Regions from separate parts of the Homo sapiens genome. Here region 2 is linked to region 1. The links are contacts of gene promoters, found by promoter capture Hi-C in human tissues and cell types (Jung and others, 2019). All regions are on one chromosome and are shown on one strand. Each heading gives the region's core, a stretch centred on a gene start or on the middle of the fragment in contact. The rest is flanking DNA. Distances are from core to core; before and after follow the strand shown.

Region 1 (6,693 bases), core at 2,223-4,722:
AAATTCCACATTTGCCTCCAACAGGAACAAATGTCAGTTTCCACCAAGCCCCACCTTGTTCAGGTGACTCCTGTTGTGAGTCTTTTCATACCATCTCCCCTTCACCCACAAGTGCCACCAACAGGCAGAGGTGGGGAGCTGGGTTTGGAGATACTGGTCTGATCCTTAGGTGAACTCCTCTCCCCTGATGTTGCAGGAGAATGGGTGCTCAGATGGAGAATCAGCACTCTTCTCAGGATTGGAAGGTGCTGTGGCTGGGGGAGTCTGCATTATGTTCTGGGCTGTGAGCTTTTCCAGAATTCTGCTCCACAGGCACACATCTGCTGTGTATGTATTTCATGGTATAAATCAGATGTCCCTGAGTTCTCTAGTATTGAATGTCTATGTAAAAAGTGTCTAGCCCCAACTGAGGATGCTGGAAGTCTAGTCTGTTAGGAGGCCCCTGAATATGTGCTTGTCTTGTGTGACCTTCCAGGAGGTGACTCAGTTCTCTTTTGTTCTGTTTCTTGCTCTAGGCTATTGCTCCATTTTTTTGTAGGTCATCTCCTGCCACTTCTTCTCTAGGGTAATGCTGTTTGCAATACACAGTTCCTTGTCTTGGTTTCCCAAGCATCTTAGTTCTGAAAGTGAGATATGGGCTTGTCTGGGACGTGGGGGACAAAGATCAGGTGCCTCCACAAGTGACTCTCCTCAGCTCCCAGCCAGCTGACAACTGCATGGACTGATGGTCTCTTTCTTTCCTTATCTGCATGCTGGTTTCCAGGACTTTGCGCACCCTGAAGGAGCCTCATATGACCCAGTAGTTTCATTCCTAGGCAGCTTTTATATCTTTTATCATTTTTCTAAGCTTAAGACACCTTTGGTCAGCCACGGTGGCTCACGCCTGTAATCCCGGCACTTTGGGAGGCCAAGGCGGGCGAATCACCTGAGGTCAGGAGTTCGAGACCAGCCTGACCAACATGGAGAAACCCCCTGTCTACTAAAAATACAAAATTAGCTGAGCGTGGTGGTGCAGACCTGTAATCTCAGCTACTCCAGAGGCTAAGGCAGGAGAATCACTTGAACCCGGGAGGCAGAGGTTGCAGTGAGCTGAGATCTCGCCACTGCACTGCAGCCTGGCAACAAGAGAAAAACTCTGTCTTTAAAAAAAAAAAAAAAGACTCCTTTTCTTTCCTCATTAATTTGGCGGCCACGTCTGTCCGGAACTTGTGGGACGTCCTCGTCTTCATCAGGTTGGCAGATACTCCAGCATGGCCTGCCGGCCGCCGAGGCCACCATCCACAGGCTCAAGGGCTCCGTGGTCGCTCCTTCGTGCTCCCGCCTCCAGAGGGAGCCAGACAGTGCATCCTTGCAGTGGACGCCGCCCGCCCGCAAAAGCCTGTTTTTCAATGACTGCCTCTACCTCTGAACCTCAGCTTAGATTTCTCTCTCTCTCTCTCTCCCTCCCTCTCCCTCTCTCTCTCTCTCTCTCTCTCTCTCCCACCCCCACCTCCTCTTTTTAAGACAAAGTCTTGCTCTGTCACCCAGGCTGGAGTGCAGTGGCGCGATCTCGGCTCACGGCAAACTCCGCTTGCCGGGTTCAAGAGATTCTCCTGCCTCAGCCAAGCAGCTGGGAATACAGGCACCTGCCACCACGACCGGCTAATTTTTTTTTTGGAAGAAAATGACTTTATTCTAATTAACTCACAAAGAATAAAATCATAACAGCTAGTTTAAGGAGGCCACACAAACATTTGCCCTGTCACAGATTCTACAGAGTAGGAACACCCCCCTTCCATTTCAATTCTGAAGCAAGGAAGCTAGGAATGACAGGAGAGGTTTAACTCATGGTTACACTTTATACCCTCACTATCAATTCTATTTTTATACTAAATTAACTTAGTTATGAGAGCTGATTTTCCATCTCTCCAGGTTGAACTTCTTGATTAGGCCAATCCGTTTGCAAGTCGGCACTGTTTCAGCACCTCATTGAAACCCTCACAGAGCTTGATGTCACCCTGGTTCTGGGCACACTCCAGAAACTGATCTCATAGAAGCAAGGCTGCTGCTGCTGTGCCGGCTGGGTTCCCTGAGGCTCCTGGTAAGTGATGTCAGGCCTCGCAGGCTCAGCATTACTTCCTCCCCTGAAAGCCCCAGTAATGGCGTGACCCACAGCAGAGCCCACAGCCACGCCAGCTGCAGTGGTTGCCATCTGGGCCATCAGACCTGGCTGCCGGGGCGCAGCAGCAGAAGAGCCAACTACAGATGGGGGTGCCGCTGCTGGTGGCTGAACGACTGGTACTGGCCTGGGTGCAGCTCTCATCTGAGGGGGCCTGGCTGGCCGGAGGGGCCATGCGGGAGGTGCGGCTTCGGCTTCCACGCGGCATCCTAGGTACGCGACGGCTCGGCCTCCGGACGTGTGACGACCGGCTAAATTTTGTATTTTAGTGGAGATGGGGTTTCACCATGTTGGCCAGGCTGGTCTCAAACTTCTGACCTCAGGTGATCCACCCACCTTGGCCTCCCAAAGTGCTGGGTTAACAGGCGTGAGCCACCGCACCTGGCCCGATCTACCCTTCTCTTACAGGATTCCTAGAGACTTAATATTTTGGTTTTGGTTTGTTTCTTTTTTGAGACAGGGTCTCCACTCCGTCGCCCAGGCTGGAGTGCAGTGGTCACTGTAGCCTGGATCTCCCAGGCTCACGGGATCCTCCCACCTGACGGCCTCCCGGCCTCCTGAGTAGCTGGGACTACAGGTACGCACCACCACACCCGCTACTTTTTAATTATTTTTTTTTTTTGAGACGGAGACTCGTTCTGTTGCCCAGGCTGGAGTGCAGTGGCACGATCTTGGCTCACTGCAAGCTCCGCCTCCCGGGTTCACGCCATTCTGCCTCAGCCTCCTGCGCAGCTGGGACTACAGGCACCCGCCACCACGCCCGGCTAATTTCTTGTATTTTTAGTAGAGAAGGGTTTTCACTGTGTTAGCCAGGATGGTCTCAATCTCCTGACCTCGTGATCCACCCGCCTCGGCCACCTAAAGTGCTGGGATTACAGGCGTGAGCCACCGCGCCCAGCCCTACTTTTTAAATTTTTTGTAGAGCGGGGTCTCACTATGTTGGCCATGCTGGTCTCGAATTCCTGGCCTCAAGCGATCCTCCCGCCTTGGCCTCCCAAAAGCTGGGATTACAGGTGTGAAACCCCGCGCCGGTCTGAACCTCAATGTTTGAACCACCAAATTTTACCTGTATTGACACAGGCCCCGTCTTGTTGTTTTTCTAAATCTCATGTCATTGTTTGCATATTGGTTACCCGTGGTTGGCTTTGGAGCTGAAGGTGGACAGAGCTAACATCAGGTTGCACACAGGAACACAGTGAGGTCGCGAAAAAGTAGCGCGAGCTGCCTCCATGGCCCAGGGCGACCTCACCGGCGTTTCCTGTCTGGGACTGCGCCCACGCGGTCACGTGGTGGCCCGGAGGACGCGCGGCGGCAGCGGCGCACGCGCACGGAGAGGAGGCTACTTGCCAGGTGAGCGAGCTGAGTGGGGCGCCGGGGCGGTAGGAGGGTGCTGTTCGCTGAGCTGGAGTCCGGGCTCCGGTCCCCGCCACGGACCTTGAGAGGGTACCCGGGGTCAGACCTGGCAGGTGGGAACCGGGAGTGGGGAGGACCCAGGGCAGGGGCGGGATGCGCAGATTCGTGGAAACTCTGCAGGTTGTGGACAAACTGCCCAAATCCTTTTCCCTGAATGCCAGTTTAATGGCCTCGTCTGATAAGAAAAAAATAAGAAATAGATTTCAGAGACCCTATTTCTCTCTCTGCCTCTCCACCTGCTTTACTTTTTTTCTCTTCTGTTAATTTTGAGCCTTATAAAACTATAGCGCCAGTATCCTGGTTTGGATCCTGAAACAGAAAAAGACATTAGTGGAAAAAATAATAAAGGCTGTGGTTTAGTTAATAGCACGTACCCATGTTAATTTCTTAATTTCGACAAATTGTACACAAATGTTGACATTAGAGGAATTTGGGTAAAAGGTACACAGGAATTCTTAGTACTATCTTTGCAATTTACTGTACATCTAAAATTATTCTAAAATGAAAAGTTAAGAAACAAAATCCTAAAGCAAAGTGCAGCAGGCCATTGTTCACCAGGGAGGGCTCAAGTTAGTTCCTCTTTGTCATGGAGTTAGGCATGTTTGACCAACTTGTTTGCTAAGGCAGAGTTGTCAGGCTACTGAATGTAGATTCTTCTGTCCAAAGGTTTCCGGGCAGGAATCGGTTTTCTCTTTCGATTCTGTCAAATATCTTTGGAACACATGTTGTGCATAAGCAAACGAGACACACAAAGTCTCTGCATAAGGGAATATACAGTCAGTCTAGGTCAGGTAGGAAGTAAGCACTATTAAAAAGATTCAGTAAAACCTCCCAGAACTGGGAAGACTCAGATGTGGAAGAAATCACATCTGGTCCAAGGGAGTCAGGAAGGCTACTGGAGGGAGTGCTGTCCTGAACTGAGGGGGCTCTGAGAAGAAACAGCATTCCTGGGGTGAAGAATGGCACCAATAGAGGCTTGCAGGTGACCAAGCTGAGCTGAGGGAGGAGCCCTGGGAGCAAGTGCAGTTCCTCTTACGTGGAAGCGCAGAGTACATCCAGGGAGTACTGCCAGATGAAACTGGAGGTGAAAACTGTAGCTTTGTTGTAGAAAACAGGGTGACACTTCAGTTGGATACATTATTTTTATTTTTATTTTTTTGAAACGGAGTTTCGGCTGGGCGCAGTGGCTCACGCCTGTAATTCCAGCACTTTGGGAGACCGGTGAGCAGATCTCCTGAGGTCTGGAGGTCTAGACCAGCCTGGCCAACATGGTGAAACCCCGTCTCTACAAAAATACAAATATTAGCCGGGCATGGTGGTGGGCGCCTGTAATCTCCGCTACTGGGGAGGCTGAGGCAGGAGAATCGCTTGAACCCAGGAGGTCTAGGTTGCAGTGAGCCGAGATCGCACCATTGCACTCCAGCGTGGGTGACAGACAATAGTGCTGTCTCAGCTCACTGGAACCTCCACCTCCCAAGTTCAAGCGATTCTCCTGCTTAGCCTCCCAAGTAGTTGGGATTAAAGGCGCCCGCCACCATACCTGGCTAATTTTTGTATTTTTAGTAGAGACGGGGTTTCACCATGTTGGCCAGGCTGGTCACAAACTCCTGACCTCAGGTGATCTGCCCGCCTCAGCCTCCCAAAGTGCTCGGATTACATGTGTGAGCCACTGTGCCCAGCCTACATTTTTTTTAAAAAGGAAAACAGGGTGACATTGACTACAATTATACATGCCATGGGAGCCATGGAATGTTTTACAGCAAGAGAGAGACATCATTCGGTTTGCACTTGGATATTATTGACTTGGCAGCAGTATGTAGGTTGGCTTGAAGTAGACCAATTAGGAAATTATCAGGCTAGCCTTGGGGAATTAAAGAGACGTTCCACCAGGGCAGTGAAATTAATGTGCAAAGAATGACATAGTTTGGGGAGATTTTTTTGGGTCTAGAAGACCTAGCAACTGAAGGCATGTGAAGACCAAAGAGGAAAAAACAATTCCAAAGTTTTGCTCCTGAGTGTTTTGGAGCATAGTTGATGCATTTGCAGAAATAGAGGACTCAGAGGGAGACCTGGAATGGGGGCTGGGAGGATAGTGAATTTTTTTTTTTTAGATGGAGTCTTGCTCTGTCACCCAGGCTGGAGTGCAGTGGTGCAATCTCGGCTCACTGCAATGTCTGCCTCCCGGGTTCAAGCGATTCTCCTGCCTCAGCCTCCCGAGTAGCTGGGACTACAGGTGCACACCACCGTGCCCAGCTAATTTTTGTATTTTTAGCAGAGACAGGGTTTCACTATGTTGGCCAGGCTGGTCTCGAACTCCTGACCTCATGATCCGCCCGCCTCAGCCTCCAAAGTGCTGGGATTACAGGCATGAGCCACCGTGCCCGGCGGTGAATTTGTTTTTGAGCAAGATGTGCTTGGATTGCTGGTGGAATATCCAGTTGGAGATGTGTATTTAAGATTAGTAAAAGAAGCCAAACATTTACAAAAGGGACAGGAAAAAGAAAAAGAGCCTTAGAGGACAGATATGAGAAGATATGAGTCAGGGAAGGAGGAGGATCAGATTTCTATTTCTAGGGGCTTCAGGAGTCAGGTGGACCTGGACTTAGTGAGTCAGTAGTGTCACAGCTCCTGCAAAGGTAGAGGAGACTGAGGAATGAAACTTGATCTTGGATTTATCTATGAGGAAGTCACTGGTCATCTTTTAAAGAGTTGTTTTAGTGGAAAAGTGAGACGACTGCTAACAGACTGTAATCTATTCATCCTACAGCCTTTCCCAAGTGGCCAGAGGACTGGACAAAGAGCCAGAAATATTGTTTCTAGTCCTGGCTCTGCTGCTAATTACCATTGTATTTGGGGCAAGTCACGTATGCCTGGGCTGGAATAGAAAAAAATACATCCGAGCTGGGCTCGGTGGCTCATGCCTGTAATCCCAGCACTTTGGGAGGCCGAGACAGGTGGATCATCTGAGGTCAGGAGTCCGAGACCAGCCTGGCTAACATGGTGAAATCCCATCTCTACTAAAAATACAAAAATTAGCTGGGTGTGGTGGCAGGCACCTGTAATCCCAGCTACTCAGGAGGCTGAGGTGGGAGAATCACTTGACCCAGGAGGCAGAGGTTGCA
Region 2 (7,017 bases), core at 3,183-5,682, 290 kb after region 1:
ACGGGGTTTTACCATGTTGGCCAGGCTGGTCTCAAACTCCTGACCTCAAGTGATCTGCTCACCTCGGCCTCCCAAAGTGCTGGGATTACAGGCATGAGCCACTGCGCTTGTATGCTCTCTTGAGCAGCTCTTTCATCAGCTTTAGAAAGCTTCTCCTTTGTCCTGGTGGGAGGCAAACCACATCTATGTTTAAGATGCTTGAGTTACAGAGACACTGGTGTGCCTCATCCTTAGGGTTGAAACTGCCTTTGCAAAATTATGACAGACAGTGAAAGAGATCTAACTGGCTCTATCTTGGTTCTAACCTTTAAGCTGTCCTTTCTCCCTCCTGGGCATAGGCCGAACTAACTTTGGGAGGAACTTATAGTTTAAAACAAAGACAATAATAGCCCTTTCCCAAAACAAAACTCTTTCTTGTGTGGGGACTAGACTGCCTCTGTAGGACTAAGAAATTAGCCACAAGATTAGAAATTATGGTTTTGGAGTCATGCAGCTGGAGGCTACAAGATTCTGATCCTCCCTCAACTGATCCTAAGATCAGTGCTTGAGACATTTTGCAGACCCGCACTTGATGGATCAGCTGGAACCACCGAGATCGATAAACTGGCTCATCTGATCTTGTGGCCCCCACCCAGGAACTGACTCAGCGCAAGAGGACAGCTTCAGTTCCCTATGATTTCATCTCCTACCTAACCAATCAGCACTCCTGGCTCACTGGCTTCCCGCAACTCACTAAGTTGTCCTTAAAAACTCTGATACCTGAATGCTCAGGGCGACTGATTTGAGTAATAATAAAACTCTGGTGTCCTGCACAGCCAGCTCTGTGTGAATTACTCTTTCTCTACTGCAATTCCCCTGTCTTGATAAATTCGCTCTGTCTAGGCAGCGGGAAAGGTGAACCCATTGGGCCGTTCCAGGGTCTCCCAGTACACAGCTTCATCACAACATAAATGAATGCGGCTTGAGTAGGGGCTTGTATGTAGAATTCGAACCCACAAAGTTGAAAATCTTTCCTTTTCAATAGGCTCTGCAATTTGCCTGATAGCAGATTACAAGGACCACTAAGAACACTACTTCCAACCCAACATTATAAGCTACTTAACAGACTAAATATGTTATGAACATAATAAATTTAAAATAAACATATGAGAATCTGTATGACAAATGCATAACATTCCTTTGAAAGTTTTTTATTTTGTGATTTGGGGTGGGTGGGTGTTCACTTACACCACTGATGTTGGAAATGTGAGAACGTTTTGAAACTACAGAAACGATGTAGTTGGAGGACTAATTAGCCAGGTGTAACTCTTCCTTCTGTGAGACAAACAACTCAGAGAGGTTTCCACAAGTGCTTATTAACTGCTCTAAATACTTCTGTTCTTTCCAGAGAACAACAGAAAGATCAAGTCTAGAAAGTTGGTATAGAACTGATGGAAAATATGAGTTCAGATCAGATTAGTACAGAGGACATTTTAGAAAACCAAGTAAAACAACAGGAGTCAATCAGATATGTAACTGAGCAAGGCTGCTAGGATGTGTACTTACACAAGGTGCAAAGATGAAATTACTATTGAAAATCTGGTCATGGAAAGAATGCTGGTTTTTTGTTGTTGTTGCTGTTGTTGTTTGGGGTTTGTTACTGTTTTGCATTGTGAGTATGGGCCTTTTCCCCCCCAGCTCAACTCACTAACATTTCTTGTCAGTTAGACTAGACTCAAGTATTTAAAAAAGGCAGCCTTGGCCGGTGCAATGGCTCACGTCTGTAATCCCAGCACTTTGGGAGGCTGAGGCAGGCATATCACTTGAGGTCAGGAGTTTGAGACCAGCCTGGCCAACATGCAACATGGTGAAACCCCGTCTTTAATAAAAATACAAAAATTGGCTGTGAGTGGTGGCACGTGCCTGTAATCTCAACTACTTGGGAGGCTGAGGGAGGAGAATTGCTTGAACCTGGAAGGCGGAGGTTGCAGTGAGCTGAGATCGCGCCACTGCACTCCAGCCTGGGCAACAAGAGTGAAACCTCCGTTAAAAACAAACAAACAAAAAGGCCAGTCTTGCTTTCTGGGTGGACTAATGGCATTTAGCCAAAATGAAAAAAAAAATCATTAAGTTGAAAAACCCTGCGGGACAGGTTATGCCAAGAGGGTGAATTGGACAGCTTTACAGATGCCTCATGTTAGGAAATTTTCCTGGATTTGAGTCTTCAATGTGGGAGCAGAGTTACCTGAATATATGGAGTTGATGGAGACATTCCTTGATGAGAAGCAGAAATTCCCCAGGGACCTTGTAAATCTGAAGCAGATAAAGGGAAATGAAGAAACCAAGTTTTACAACTTTGATGAGTGGCAAAATTTGTCAATAAGAGCTAGATATTAAGTAATTAGCTTTTAGGAAGCAAAGTGTATTGGACTTGGCTATGATATGAAGGAATTCATTTAATAAATCAAAACGAAAACAAAAACAACAAAAACAAAGAAGCGAAGCATGAATCTCCTAATCAGCAGAAAAGGGAGGACAGCCGGAGACAATCGTATTCCTGATCGATACTGATGTAAACTTGTGCTGGAACAGTAAGTTCTTTGTTTTGTCTTGTTTTTATTTATTATTATTTTTTAAATCAAGGGAGATAACGCTTGTAGAGCCCCACACACTCAGAGCCCTGAGATAAAGGGTACACGCAATGGAGGCAGGGCATCCGGGATGTGAAGGGGGAGTTGTTTCGCGTTTGACTTACTTTGCTGTCCGAGAACGACAAATACATTGAAGTGCCACAACTTGGATAGGAATAAGACGGAAGGACAGAGAAGGATGACAAACTAAATCACACAAAGGCTCATGCGCCACAAGAACTATGAAACCTAGGTGTTCTGAATCTCTGGGTTTAGATTTCCGATTAAAAAAAATCAAACATTCTAGCTGTTACTTGTTATTAGACACTCGGTAGGGCACAGGAGAATCAAGTAAGGGCAGCCATTTGCTGAGTCTCATCTTATACCACAGCGCCACCTATTGGACGCTGATAAAAATACATCCGGAAGTACCTAAAACCTATTGAAGTCCTGTCTACACAATTTTGTAAGTAACTATAAATTCTAGAATCATAGGATTTCAGAGTGATGGGGCTTTAAAAGTCATTGGAGTCAAGTTTGTGTCCAACATTTGAATCACTTTTATAACATATTTGATTAGTGTTTAATTCTGCTCCAACATCTTCAGTGAATGAAAACACACCCTCACTAAGCAGCTCATTCTATTAATATGAATACTTTCACACACTATTACTTTTCACTCAGTGCTTCACCACTCCTTTCTGCAGCACCCGGACAGAACCTAGTGCTAGGTCTTTCCAGGGTTCTTGGGAGTGAATTGGTTTCACTTTCATTGGAATTCTTCTTTGCAGACCCATTGACGGTAGGCTCTGCTAAATCAGTTACTATGCACTTTCTGTGTTTCAAATTATTGCTCATATCTCCTGTCTTCTATTTCTCCTCTCTCATTCTTTTTTTTTTGAGTTTTACTTTTTGTCAAAAATTAATCTATTATCATTTTGATAGGTTTGGGAGGACAGAAGAAATAAAACAAGAAAGAAATAAACCCCACCATGTTTAATTAGGGGCCTAGTCATGTTTTTCTGATTCTGTTCTTTTTTTTTTGAGACGGAGTTTCCACTCTTGTTGCCCAGGCTGGAGTGCAATGGTGCAATCTCGGCTCACCACAACCTCCGCCTCCCGGGTTCAAGCGATTCTCCTGCCTCAGCCTCCCGAGTAGCCGGGATTAAAGGCATGCGCCACCATGCCCGGCTAATTTTTTTTTTTGTATTTTTAGTAGAGACGGGGTTTCTCCATGTTGGTCAGGCGGTCTTGAACTCCCGTCCTCAGGTGATCCGCCCACCTCGGCCTCTCAAAGTGCTGGGATTACAGGTGTGAGCCACCGCGCCTGGACCTGATTCTGTTCTTATGCACGAAAAAAATGTAAGCGTAGGGCTTTACATTTATTTCAGTTAAAATTTTTATTAAGTTTGGCTTATCGTTAGAGCCTTTGGATCTTCACTCTGCCATATTAAATATATTGGCTACCTTTCCCAGCAGTCAGAGAAGTGCATTAGCAAGCCAACTGTACACTCAACTATTTACTCAATGAACAGGACAAGTCTGCAAACAGAATTCCTTTACACTAGAAACTCTGGGCTGACATTGATTCATAATTAGCACCTATCTTTGTGATCATCTGGGCCACATTCTTCTGTCTTGTTCACAAGGTAAAAGTCTCTGTCAAATGCTGAGTTCAAATGGTGAAGCTGCGTATTGACAGCTTCTTCTGATTTGTCAGTCTGGCAGAGTTTGGATAAAAACAGAAGTCCTGTTAATTCATTAGTCATGACTTTCCCTATCTGAATCTTATGCACAATTAAATACTCCCCTTTCTTCTCTCCATGTTCAAGGTGGTGTTAGACAACCTGCCTGAGAATTGCACTATTGATTCCTGCCCCAGTTTCTAGAATTCTTTGTGATAACGAACAGCAGCTCATTTTGTCACCAATCTCTTCTAGGTATAGGCTAGGATGTAGTTTGTTGGGGCCAGGAGGTTTGCACCGATGTAGAGAACCCAGATGCTTTCTTATGATTTTTCCACCAGTTTGGATTTTTAGATCTTTTATCTTAATCCTTGTTGTATTATTTTCTGGCCAGTAATCTTTCTCCTTGGCAGAAATGAAAGATAGAAAATAGGAGATAAAGTGGTATCTGCCTCTATTATCCATCTTTCACTACTCTTGTATAATTCCAGAAAGTGCTCTTTTTAAAAAATTTCTTTTTGAGATGCAGTCTCGCTCTATTGCCCAGGCTGGAGTGCAGTGGCATGATCCTGGCTCACTGCAACCTCCGCCTCTCGAGTTCAAGTGATTCTCCTGCCTCAGCCTCCTAAGTAGCATGAACCGCCATGCTGGGATAGTTTTTGTATTTTTGGTAGAGACGAGGTTTCACCATGTTGGCCAGGCTGATCTCAAACTCCTGACTTCAGGTGATCCATACGCCTCAGCCTTCCAAAGTGCTGGGATTACAGGGGTGAGCCACTGTGCCCAGAAAAGTGCTTTAAGTCACTCTTTACATTTAAAGTTTATCTGCCTTTCTTTTGTGTGGTATAGAATCTGAAGTTATTTGGCTAGGCAAGCTTGCTGGATTTCTTCAATTTGACCTTTTAGATTCATTTTCCACCTTTATCCATAATTTTCTGTTCTGGGAGGCTGTCCTGTGTGGATCACAGCAAAGGCACCTATGCCTTCTGGCTTTCCGCAGGAGATGGGAGGGAGAGAGAAAGGAGCATGGGGTCAGGGCATATATTTCCTTGGTTCCTTCCTGCGAGGTTGACACAAGTTGCTGAGTCTCTCAACAGAATGTCACTGCTCTTGTCTAGGTGGCCTGCTCTATGCCATTCTCTTTTTGGGTTCTGGCAAGCTCTCTTTTACCCTATTCCTATACAGTTCCACTGCCACTATCTCTTATGGCTCTGCTATCCCCACTCACCCCTTTGTAATTAGTCCCTCTGTAAATAAAACCTCCTCCAATTTTCCTAATTCGTGTGTGCCATCTGTTTTTGTTCCTTGAGGTGGAGAGAACTGGACTGATACAGGAAGTTTAAAACAAGTGTGAGAGAAAGTTCTTCTATTGTATCAAGTTTTTTTTGGACCACGTGATAAACTATTCTTGGATGGTCCAGTAACTGACCCTTTGTAAAATTTTTGGTGTATCAGAGTCAAAGATAGAAACTATTTTATAAATTTTTTTAGGTTAGAAAACCAAGTGGTATTTTTTCTGATATTAATGCCTATGTAACTGAATGCTATATTCCAGAAATGATTAGTGATATTTTGGTTTCCAAACTGTTGGACAAAAAACAGGTATATGAAACACAGGAATAATTTCTAGAATATATAAGGAACTCCTACAAATCAATATGGAACAGACAAAAAATAAAGCAGAAAAATGGGCAAAGGGTATAAATAGACAAGTCACAGATGGAAAATGTATATGAAAAGATGCACAACCTCATTAGTAATCTGGAAAATGCAAACTAAAACAAGATAGCACTTCATATGCATTATAAGGGCAAAAGTAAAAAAAGTCATAGAATAGTCTTTGGGGAGTGGGTACAAGTGTAAATTAATACATCCACTTTGTTTATTTATATATATTTTATATTTTTATTATTTTTAAAATTGAGATGGGATCTTGCTATGTATCCCAGGCAAGTCTCAAACTCCCAGCCTCAAGTGATCATCCCACCTTGTCCTCCCAAAGCACTGGGATTACAGGTGTGAACCACTGTGCCTAGATGGTGCAACCACTTTGGAAAATAATTTGGCAATATCTTGTAAAGTTGAAAGTAAGCATGCCACAGGATCCAACAATTCCAATTCTAGGTACTCATTGGTCTAGAACTTTTTGCACATATGCACTAGGAGACATGGAAAAGGCTGTATATTATGGCACTGCTTGCAAAATATGAAAATTGGAAATAAGCTAATGCCCATCAAAAGGGGAATGTATAAATAATCAAGGTATGTTTATATGATGAAATGATGCAAAGTGGTTGAAATGAATGAACTCAATCAATATATATTAGGAGGCAATGAGGTTTTTTTTTTTTTTAAAAAGCAAGTTGCAGAAAGATGTATACTAGATGCTACTATTTTTTCCAAGTTGGGTAGAAATTAACACACAAAGAAAAGTATCTTTTGTTTGCAGATAGGTATATATGCAGCAAAATACAGGCTGAAAGACTAAGCCTAGGCCAAGTGCGGTGGCTCATGACTGTAATCCCAGCACTTTGGGAGGCCAAGGCAGGTGGATCACGAGGTCAGGAGATCGAGACCATCCTGGCTAACACAGTGAAACCCTGTCTCTACTAAAAATGCAAAAAATCAGCCGGGCTTGGTGGCAGGCGCCTGTAGTCCCAGCTACTCTGGAGGCTGAGGCAGGAGAATGGTGTGAACCTGGGAGGGGAGGCAGAGCTTGCAGA

Evidence for each region. Contacts are between HindIII fragments. The study calls those that stand out against the background at their distance.
Region 2: a contact is called between a fragment that was not itself captured here and the fragment with the promoter of CCDC125 in region 1, in 1 of the 25 tissues and cell types used here (hippocampus).

Annotation. Positions count from the first base shown.
Region 1 is chr5:69,329,580-69,336,272 of GRCh38, reverse strand. CCDC125 (coiled-coil domain containing 125) reads left to right here and starts at 3,472. Exons shown (of 12, transcript NM_176816.5): 1 at 3,472-3,624. It also overlaps the pseudogene CHCHD2P2. RefSeq lists a silencer at 1-231. The HindIII fragment of the contact is 34,363 bases long and covers 1-6,693 here.
Region 2 is chr5:69,038,996-69,046,012 of GRCh38, reverse strand. No RefSeq gene overlaps it. Among named protein-coding and RNA genes, the nearest start is that of LINC02198, 13 kb to the right of the region's middle. The HindIII fragment of the contact is 3,546 bases long and covers 2,660-6,205 here.